Linked DNA regions of Homo sapiens: region 1 is linked to region 2. Evidence: promoter capture Hi-C in human tissues and cell types (Jung and others, 2019). All regions are on one chromosome and are shown on one strand. Each heading gives the region's core, a stretch centred on a gene start or on the middle of the fragment in contact. The rest is flanking DNA. Distances are from core to core; before and after follow the strand shown. Region 1 has its middle 350 kb from the start of SLCO4C1. Region 2 holds the start of SLCO4C1 (solute carrier organic anion transporter family member 4C1).

The links. The method cuts DNA at HindIII sites, captures the fragments that hold promoters and counts their contacts. A contact is called where the count stands out against the background at its distance.
Region 1: a fragment that was not itself captured here is called in contact with the fragment with the promoter of SLCO4C1 in region 2 in 1 of the 25 tissues and cell types used here (dorsolateral prefrontal cortex).

What each region holds. Positions count from the first base shown.
Region 1 is chr5:101,939,720-101,945,305 of GRCh38, reverse strand. No RefSeq gene overlaps it. Among named protein-coding and RNA genes, the nearest start is that of SLCO4C1, 350 kb to the left of the region's middle. The HindIII fragment of the contact is 5,198 bases long and covers 857-5,586 here.
Region 2 is chr5:102,293,393-102,298,657 of GRCh38, reverse strand. It overlaps SLCO4C1 (solute carrier organic anion transporter family member 4C1), which reads left to right and starts at 2,374. Exons shown (of 13, transcript NM_180991.5): 1 at 2,374-2,750. The coding sequence starts at 2,396. RefSeq lists an enhancer at 2,409-2,608. The HindIII fragment of the contact is 20,431 bases long and covers 1-2,973 here.

The DNA.
Region 1 (5,586 bases), core at 2,206-4,705, 350 kb after region 2:
TGACAAAAAAAGAGCAAGTTTGGAGACACACTTCTTGATTTCAAATTATGCTATAAGACTATAGTAACCAAAGAAGTATGGTCCTGGCATGAAAACAGACACATAGACTGATGGGGCAGAATAGAGAGCCCAGAAATAACCCATGCATATAAGGTCAACTAATTTTGACATGGACGCCAAGAATATACAATGAGAAAAGGGTAGCCTCTTCAATAAATTGTGTTGGAAATACTGGATATCTACATGCAAAAGAATGCAATAGGACTCATCTTACACCACACACAAAGATCAACCCAAAGTGGATTAAATACTTAAGGATAGAAACTGTAAACCTCCTATAAGAAAAAATAGGGAAGACTCTTCTTAACATTGGTTTTGGCACTGATTTTTTTGAACATGACACCAAACGCACAGGTAACAAAAGCAAAAATAAGTAAGTGGCACTACATCAAACTTAAAAGCTTCTGCACACCAAAGGAAACAATCAATAAAATGAAACAAATCAAACTTAAACAAATCAACAATAAAAGACAAATTACCCCATTAAAAAGTGAGCAAGGAGCATGAACAGACAATTCTTAAAAGAAGACATACATGTGGCCAAAAAAAGATGAAAAAATGCTTGACATCTCTAATCATTAGAGAGATAAACATCAAAACCACAATAAGATAACGTCTCACACCAGTCAGAATGGCTATTATTAAAAATATAACCATCAAAAAATAACATCATCAAAAAATAACATACATAGGCGAGGTTGCAGGGAAAAGGGAATATACACTTTATACACTGTTGATAGGAATGTAAACTATTTCAGCCTCTGTGTGAAGCCATTTGGAGATGCTATAAAGCAGTGGTCCCTAACCTTTTTGGCACAATTTTTCCATGAACAGGGCAGAGTTGCGGAGATAGTTTTGGGATGAAACTGTTCCACCTCAGATCATCAGGCATTAGTTAGACTGTCATAAAGAACATAACCTAGATACTTTGCATGTGTAGCTCACAGTAGAGTTCACAGTCCTATGAGAATCTAAGGCTGCCCCTGATCTGACAGGAGGCGGAGCTCAGGGGTAATGCTTGCTGGTTACTCACCTCCTGCTCTGTGGCAGGGTCCCTAACAGGCCACAAATCTGTACTGGTCTATGGCCCAGGGGTTGGGGACCCCTGCTATAAAAGAATACCTGAGACTAGGCAATTTGTAAAGAAAAGAGTTTTATTTTGGCTCATGGTTCTGTAGACTGTAAAGGAAGCTTGGTGCTGGCATCTGCCTCAGGGAGCTTACAATCATAGCATAAGGGGAAGGGGAAATGAGTCAGCATGTTACATGGCAAAGGAGGAAGCAAGATTGATGGGGAAGTGTTACACTCTTTTAAACAACCAGATCTCCTTTGAACTCAGCAAGAACTCACTCATTACCTCCAGGAGGGCTCCAAGCTGTTCCTGAGGGATCCAACCTCATTACCCAAATATCTCTCAGTAGGCCCCACCTCCAAAATTGAGGATCACGTTTCAACATGAGATTTGGAGAGGATACATATCCAAACTATATCAGAAGATTTCTCGAAGAGCTAAAAATAGAATTATCATTTGACTGAACAACCCTATTACTGATTACATACCCCAAAGGAAATAAATTTTCCATAAAAAAGATACCTTTACTTATATGTTTATCTCAGTACTATTCATAATAGTAAAGACATGGAATTAACCCAAGTGTACATCAATGGTCAACTGGATAAAGAAAATGTGGTTATGTGTTTAAGATAAGTAACTAGATGCAACTGGGAAGCGCCACTCTCACAGAGAGAAACCAGGATTTTGGCCATACCAACATAATTTGTACAGACCTTTGGGGAGAAAATGCCAAATGTGGATGGTGAAGACACAGTCACTGATGCTGATGAGAGAGGAGACTAGGAACCCTATGTGGTTATCTAAATGCTACGTCTGGTTCACTGCTCCAAAAGATGCCTGGGTATGGATGAGTGAAGGGACTGGGGGACTGTTCACTCTTGCTGCAAACCTTTGGAATCCTAGCTGCAGTGACCCCACAGCCCATGAATGTGTGAGCCGGCAGGGGATTCTCCCTGGAGATTAGATGGAGATGGAGCTGCAGCAAGCACAAAGCTGGGGACCTTTGAGTGGATCAGCTCTGGCAAAGCTCAGCTGTAAGCACCCATCCCCTAGGGCTGCCCATCTACCTTTGAGAGGCTGTGGCCCCAGCTTATGGCTATGGGGAAAGCCAGGCCAGTTTCTCCCTGGGACTGGGACTTATCTTTCCTGCAGGCCCACCTATCCGCCAGCCTCTCCTAGGGCCACTGCCTGGCTACTCCATACAAGTGTGTATATAATGCAGCCTCTGCTTCCCAGCTCAGTTGCTTTGCTCCACCTACATACTTTCCAGCAACGTAGATGTCCTTTAGATGTCAGGCTGCACCCAAAACCCAACTCCAAGCGACCGGAGGAGGGAGCTGTGAGAGGGTCCTAGTACCTTAGAGCTATGGCCTGTGGCTCAGAAGTACTGAGCTGCGAGCTGTGCTCTGCATTTGAAAGGGGCAGGAGTCACACTCTCAGAAAACTGGAAGAGCTGGGTTGCACAGTTTGATGGGCTGATGTGGGACCTGGCTGTGCCTCCTTCCACTCGGTTGGGGTGTGGCCTGATTCTCTAAGGGACTTCTCCCCAAGGGAGCCCTGTGGCCTGAAAGACCTAACAGCAACAGGAAAGAAAATCATGAGAAGATTGCTGGTGATCAGGGGTAGCTCCCCGGGGGCCTTTGAGCAGATCTGGTGAGGGTGTCACCTCTATCCCCATCGCACTGCAGAACACAACTGCAAATGTGAAGATATACAAAGGAACTGTGTGGCTAGGAACTGCCTATGGCTCTCAAGTGCCATCTATTGGATCGCAGCCCAAACTACATCAAAAATTCTCTCTCATTGGAAACAGCAAGAACGCTACAACAAAGAATCTGTACAAAGCATTAGTCTTCTGAAATTCCAAAAATGAAGGCAATAGGCAATTCTCAGTTTACACCACAACTAAGGAAATACCAGCCCTGCCAGGTGGGAAAGGATCAGTGAAATAACTCTGGCAATTCAAAAAGCCAGAGTGTTCCCTTACCTCCAAATGAGCCCACTAGCTCCCCAGTGATGGTTCTTAACTTGTCTGAATTGTCTGAAATAACAGACATGGAACTCTGAATCTGGATGGCAAGGAAGCTCATTGAAATCAAGAAGAAACTTGAAACAATCTAACATAGTGAAACAATACAGTAAAACTATTCAAGAGCTGAAAGATGAAACTCCCATTTTAAGAAAAATCCAAACTGAGCTTCTTGAGCTGAAAAATTCAGTATGATAATTTCATAATACATTTGAAAGTATTAACTGCAGCATAGCCAAGCTGAGGAAAGAGTCTTCAGGCTAATGCTTCAAATCAACTAAATCAGACAAAAATAGAGACAGAAGAATTAAGAAAAATGAGCAAAACCTCTGAGAAATACAGGATCATGTAAAGAGACAAACCTGTGACTCAGTGGCATTCCTGAGAGAGAAGAAGGGAGAATAAGCAACTTGAGCATTATATTTGAGGATATATTCCACAGCAATTTCCTTAATCTTGCTAGAGAGGTTGACATGAAAATCTAAGAAATACAGAGAACTCCAGCCAGATACTATACAAGGCAACCATCCCCAAGACACATAGTCATCAGATTCACTAAGGCCAGTGAAAAAGAAAATATCTTAAAAGTAGCTAGAGAGGAAGGTTCAGGTAACCTAAAGAAGGAACCCCATCAGGCTAGCAGAAGACCTCTCAGCAGAAACTTTTATCAGCCAGAAGACATTGAGGGCCTATTTTCGGTGTCCTTTAAGAAAAGAAAACCCAACCAAGAATTTAATATTCTGCCTTACTAAGTTTCATAAGTGAGGGAGAAATAAAATCCTTTTCAGACAGGCAAATATTGCGGGAATATGTTTCAACTAGACCAGTCTTACAAGAAGTTTTTAAGGGACTGTTAAATATGGATTCTAAAGAAGGACACTTGCTATCACAAAAGCACATCTAAGCATACGGCCCACAGGCACTATAAAATGCAACTACGCATCAAGTCTACATAACAACCAGCTAGCAACACTATGACAGGATAAAAATCACACATATCAATGCTAACCTTGAGTATAAATAGTCTAAATGTCTAACTTAAAAGACACAGTGTCAGACTGGATACAAAGACAAGACGCAAACATCTGTTGTCTCTAAGAGACCCACCTCGCATATAATGATATCCAAGGGCTAAATAAAAGAGTGGACTAATATGTAGCATGCAAATGGAAAACCAAAAAGAGCAGGAGTCTATTCCTGTATCAGATAAAACAAACTTTAAACCAATCAAAATTAAGAAGGACAATGAAGGGCATTACATAACGATAAAGGGTACAATCCAACAAGAAGCCTTAACTATTCTAAATATATACACCCCCAACATTGGAGCACCCAGATTCATAAAATGGGTTCCTGGCCAACAAAAAGACTTAGACAATCACAGAATAATAGTGGGAGACATTAACACCCCACTGACAGTGTTAGACAGATCTCGGAGGCAAAAAACTCACAAAGAAACTCTGGACTTCAACTTGACACTTGACCAACTGTACCTAATGACACCTACAGAATACTTTACCCTACAACTACAGAATATACATTCCTCTCATCTGCACATGGAACATATTCTAAGATCAACCACATGCTTGGTGGTGAAGCAAGCCTTGATAAATCCAAAAAAATTAAAATCATACCAAACCAAACACACTCTTGGACCACAGTGCAATAAAAAATAGAAATCAATACCAAGAGTATCTCTCAAAATGATACAAATACATGGAAATTAAACAACTTACTCCTGAATAACTCCTGGGTAAACATAATTAAGGCAAACATTTTTTAAAACTTGAAATTAATGTAAATAGGTACACAACTTACCAAAATCTCTGGGATGCAGCAAAAGCAGTGTTACAAGGAAAGTTTATAGCTCGTAACTCCTTCATCAAGAAATTAGAAAGTCTCAAGTTAACAATCTATTGTTACACCTAAAGGAACTGGAATAAAAAATAACAAACCAAACCCAAAACTAGCAGAAGAAAATAGATAACTAAAATTAGAGAATAACTTGTTGAAATTGAAATGCAAATTCCATACAAAAGATCAATGAAATGCAGATGGTTTTTTTGAAAAAAATAAATAAGACTGATGGGCCCCTAGCTAAACTAACCAAAATAAAACAGAAAGAGAAGATCGAAATAAGGACAATCAGAAATGACAAAGGTGATATTACAACATACAAAAGATATCAGAGACTACTATGAACAACTGTATGCACACAAATTAGAAAATCTAGAGGAAATGGACAAATTCCTGGAAGTACACTATCTTCCAAGATTAAATGAGGTACAGATTGAAACCCTGAATAGACCAATATCAACTTCTGAAATTGAAACAGTAATAAGGAGCACCCCCTCAAAAAAAAAAGCCCCGACCAGATAAATTCACAGCCAAATTCTACCAGACACACAAAGAAATGCCAATA
Region 2 (5,265 bases), core at 1,125-3,624:
TCAGATCCTTAAGTGGCAGTTCACTTATTAGCTATGTGACTTTGGGACAGTTACTAATTCTTTATGGGATATGGTTTCCTCAATATGTAAACTATATATAACAGTGCAGCTGCTTTTGTAAAGATTTTAATAATGGGGCATATAGCAGACATTTTAAATGTTAGCTCCTACTTCTACTCTTTCCCCATGTTTTAGGCCAATCTAGAATTTATTTTTATTTTTAATTCTTATTTTTTTGAGACAAGGTCTGGCTCTATGGCACAGCTGGAGTACTCATTGCAACCTCACCCTCCCAGGTTGTAAGCGACCCTCCCACCTCAGCCTCCCAAGTATCTGGAACTACAGGCGTGCACCACCATGCCAGGCTAAGTTTTGCATTTTTGGTAGAGACAGGGTTTTGTCGTGTTGCCCAGGCTGGTCTCAAACTCCTGGACTCAAGGCACCCACCTTGGCCTCCCAAAGTACTGGGATTACAGGCCTGCACCTCTGCGCCCGGCTGGCCAGTCTAGAGTTTTCTCGATTGTGAGGAAACAGGTAACAGAATGTACCTCTGTCCAAAGTAAGATACATATTTTATATCTGTCTCTCAACCCAGTAAACACAGCATATATAATTGAAACAAAAGTTTCACAAAATAGTATTTATCATATTATGTGCCATGTACTATGTATTATTACTGTCTGTTTCCTATTAAAACATAAGCACCATAAGGGTAGGGGTATTTGCCAGTCTTTGTTCACTTGTGTACCCCCAGAACTTAGAACAATGTTTGGCACCTAGGACACAAGAATTTTTTGTGTCTGTGTTAAGTGAAAGAATGAATGACTAAATTGTACCTACCATGACACAATGGTGTTAAGCTCTTCGAAGTGTTTTTCTTATTTATTCCACAGTTAGACATGTATTATTATTATTATTATTATTATTAAGAGACAGAGTTTCACTCTTTCACCCAGACTGGATTGAAGTGGCACAATCTCGGTTCACTGTACCCTCCACCTTCCGAGTTCAAATGATTCTCCTGCCTCAGCCTCCCAAGTAGCTGGGATTACAGGCCTGCACCACCACACCTGGCTAATTTTTGTATTTTTAGTAAAGACAGTGTTTCACCATGTTGGCCAGGCTAATCTTGAACTCCTGACCTCAGGTAATCCACCCGCCTCAGCCTCCCAAAGTGCTAGGATTACAGGCGTGAGCCACCGCGCCTGGCCCGGTAGAAATTATTTACATGATTGTCATCACTGTATATCTTACATATGCAATATACAGCAGAGAGACAATTTCTGGTCCTTCAGTTTCGGAGAAGGAAAAGCAAAGCAGTGGTTATGCTGTGATGTTCATCCTGGTGGTGATGGGGGTGGGGTGGGGTGGATTTCTTTTTCTAAGGAGGACTGAGGCAGGAAAATAGGGTCTGGAGGCAGGAAACATAAGGCCTATTCACACTTCAGCTGTAACAGGAAATATCCTCTCCATAGGGCGTAGGCCATAAATGACTTTGTAACTTTACTTCATCTTCTCCCTTTACATAGGGCATACCCAAAGTAACCAATGGAATCCTCTAGGGGGTATTTAAACTCCCCAAAATTCTGTAACCGGGCCTTTGAGCCCCTATGCTCGCCCGTTCCCACACTGTGGAGTGTACTTTCATTTTCAATAAACCCCTTCATTCCTTCCTTGCTTTGTTTGTGCGTTTTCTTCAATTCTTTCTTCAAGATGCCAAGAACCTGGACACCTTCTACCAGTAACAGGATGACAGGCAAGAGTCTTATCAAGATGCTCATGAACCAAAGTATACCTCTGACGTCTTGATTCTTGGAGTCCAAGCCTAGACTGCTTTGGTAAGCAGCAAAGGAAGAAAACGCAAGATAGTTTCCTGAACAATCTCCTGATGCAACTGTTTACAGGTTTCATGTCAGCACCCAAGGGGAGCTTATGGCCAGAGACTCCCACAGTCTCTGTGTGTTCCCAGTGCTTGGGCTCAAGGGAGGCGCGCTGCGGGCTGAAGGCTCAGGTCAGAACCGCAGGGGCTTGGGCGGAGGCGGACTCCGGTCGAAGGCTGTGGGGTGAGAACTCTCGCCCCCTCTACTCGGCCGCCGCCGGGTGGCACGCCCACGCCGCGCCTTCCGGTTGGTCCTTGAGGCGACGGGTGAGGCACAGCTGAGCGCCAAAGCCACAGGCTGGGGCGCTAACGCCCCCGCTCAGCGCTCTGCGCTCCAGACAGCTGCGAGCTGGAGTAGGAAGGTTCAGGCGGTGGCGGAGAGTGCGCTGGAGGCTGGAGGGCCAGGAGGCGGGAAGCTTCCCGCACGGGGGCGCTGTCACCTGCCTGTGGGAGGAGCCAGAGAGGGACCTGGCTCTGCTGCTCTGAAGCACCGGAGTCGGGAGAACCCATCCAGACATGAAGAGCGCCAAAGGTATTGAGAACTTGGCTTTTGTCCCCTCCAGCCCAGACATCCTGCGCCGCTTGTCTGCGTCGCCCTCCCAAATCGAAGTCTCTGCCTTGTCCTCTGACCCCCAAAGAGAGAATTCTCAGCCACAGGAGCTTCAGAAGCCCCAGGAGCCCCAGAAGTCACCAGAGCCATCTCTGCCTTCAGCCCCTCCCAATGTCTCCGAAGAGAAGCTCCGGTCACTGTCGCTGTCCGAGTTTGAGGAGGGGTCTTACGGCTGGAGGAACTTCCATCCTCAATGTCTCCAGCGCTGCAACACACCTGGAGGCTTTCTGCTTCACTACTGCCTCTTGGCCGTCACGCAAGGTAAAGTCCAGCGCCCGCTTGAGGCTCGGGCCAGTGGAGAGCGAGGTGGGCACGGCGAGCCAGCCGGGGGAGAGGGCAGGTGCGCGGGGTCCGTGGGACGGTGGACGCGCCCTGCAAGGTGGCCCCGGGTTTGGAACTTGCTTGCGCTCTCACCAAGGTCAACCTACCGGCCCCCAGCCAGCCTTCCAAAGTTCAGCTTCTCCTTTATCACTACAGTTCAAACTTGCAATACAAGCCTTTTTCTCTTTTGTGTTTTACCTCAGTTTAGCGGATTCAAGACTTACAGGGAAGATTACAAGAACCTTCCTTTGGGAAAGGTATACCCTGGGGAGTTTATTTTACATTATAAAGACAAAAATTTACCTAGGCACTCTTTAAAGGTATTTTACTTTTACATTTGTTTCATTGCCTCAGGGGAAGGAGTAATACGTTTGCAGGTGGGAGTGGGATGCCTTACAAGGAAGAAAGCTATGAAAAATCTATCGTATAAATTAGATACAGACATTCATGTTTTGTGAGTGTATTTAGTTTGAGAGTATGTGGTCACCAGAGGAGCCCAGTGAGTAAATTAGCAAAGGCTCCCGACGTTGTTGAGCCTTAATCTTCATTGTGTTACATTAGTTATCCAGCATCTGTTTTGTTCTAGGATCTCTTTTAGGTTCTCTTGGGAGTTACAGATTCAGTTCAGATTTATACCCTCAGGGGCTTGCAATCTAAGCTCAGTTTGGAGGAGTGATATCCTGGAGGGAGAACAGCTCCCTTGAAAGAAGGCACAGGGAAGGTTAAAGCTGCTTCTGGTGTGTTCAATACAGAGGTTGAAGGAAAATAGGAAGTTAACCTGAGTTGACTTTGAGGAAGGGTGGAGAAGAGGTGGAGAGGAGTCAAGAAGGACATGCCGAAGCTTAGCTGAATTGGAATGTAGATATTTTTTGGTCACTTGAGTCATAGTCCGAGAATATTTTCTGTATAATCAGTCAAGGATTAATTGGAAGAAATACAACCTTAGAAATATAGATTTTAGAGGGTTGGAAACAGCTCATTTTTTAAGTTAATAGAAAACTAAGTCAAAGCCTAAGTATACTTTTTGTTCTTATTCTTCCTCTTCAAGGAACCCAGGGCCCCTTGCTTTGCGCATTAGATGCTAAGTAACCATTTATTGATTGCAAGTCCGCTGCAGCTCTTCTACTGAAGGTAGATTTGTGTTGAAGAATTATTTCCCTGTCCACTTTTCTTGTCCCTACCAAAGTTCCCCTCCATTAATGTCTTGATCATAGTTTTACAAAATTGGTAATTGTGAAGCATCTCAGTGTCAAAGGAATGCGAAGATAAAAAAGTTGGACACAAGTAAAAAATGTCTTATCTTGTGTATTATCTTAAAATTCCTCTGAAATTTCTATATTATTCCAAAATATAACATTTTATATTTAATATAAAATATTGCCTAAAATTGTTATCAAATGTAATTGTCACTCCTAGAAAATTTGTCAGGTTTAGTCTGGAGCAGCATCTACCCAGAGGTCCCCAATTTAAGAAGCTTAATCTGAGATAATAGTGACCCAATAGGCTGGGCATGGTGGCTCACGCCTGTAATCCCAGCACTTTGGGAGGCCGAGGCGGGCGGATCAGTTGAGGTCAGAACTTGGATACCAGCCTGGCCAACATGGTGAAACCCGTCTCTACTAAAAATACAAAAAATTATGGCCGGGCGCCGTGGCTCACGCCTGTAATTGCAGCACTTTGGGAGGCTGAGGCAGGCAGATCAACTGAGGTCAGGAGTTCGAGACCAGCCTGGCCAACACGGTGAAACCCCGTCTCTACCAAAAATACAAAAACTAGTTGGGCATTGTGGCGCATGCCTGCAATCCCAGCTACTTGGAGGGCTGAGGTGGGAAAAACACTTGAACCCAGGAGGCGGAGTTTGAAGTGGACCGAGATCGTGTCATTGCACTCCGGCCTAGGCAACAGAGGGAAACTCTGTCTCAAAACAAAACAAAACACCACAAAAATTAGCCGGGTGCGGTGGCACACGCCTGTAGTCCCAGCTATTCAGGAGGCTGAGGCACGAGAATGGCTGGAACCCGGGAGGTGGAGGTTGCAGTGAGCCGAGATGGCGCCACTGCACTCCAGCCTGGTGACAGAGCGAGGCAAGGTCTCAAAAAAAAGTATAATAATAAAAAGTGTGACCCAATAAATTACTAGTTTACGTTTCAGTTTAAGTTTGAATGCCTGAAAACTTTATTGCCATGTTTCTCAAACATGATCCTTAAGATCATTTCCATGGTATATTTAAATATACATTTAATTGGAAAGAAAAACAAAATTTCTCGAATGAGTTTATTTAACCCAGCATTTCTCAAAGACAAACAGGGATTCTCTAAGTACTTAATTTTCTAATGTGCTTCCTATTGTCATTCATTTACAACAGAGAGATGTAGTATGGAGCGTTTCCTGATTTTTTTGTTTTTGTTTTTTTAAGTAGTGTTCTTGGAACTTGTATAGCATAGAATTCACTTTA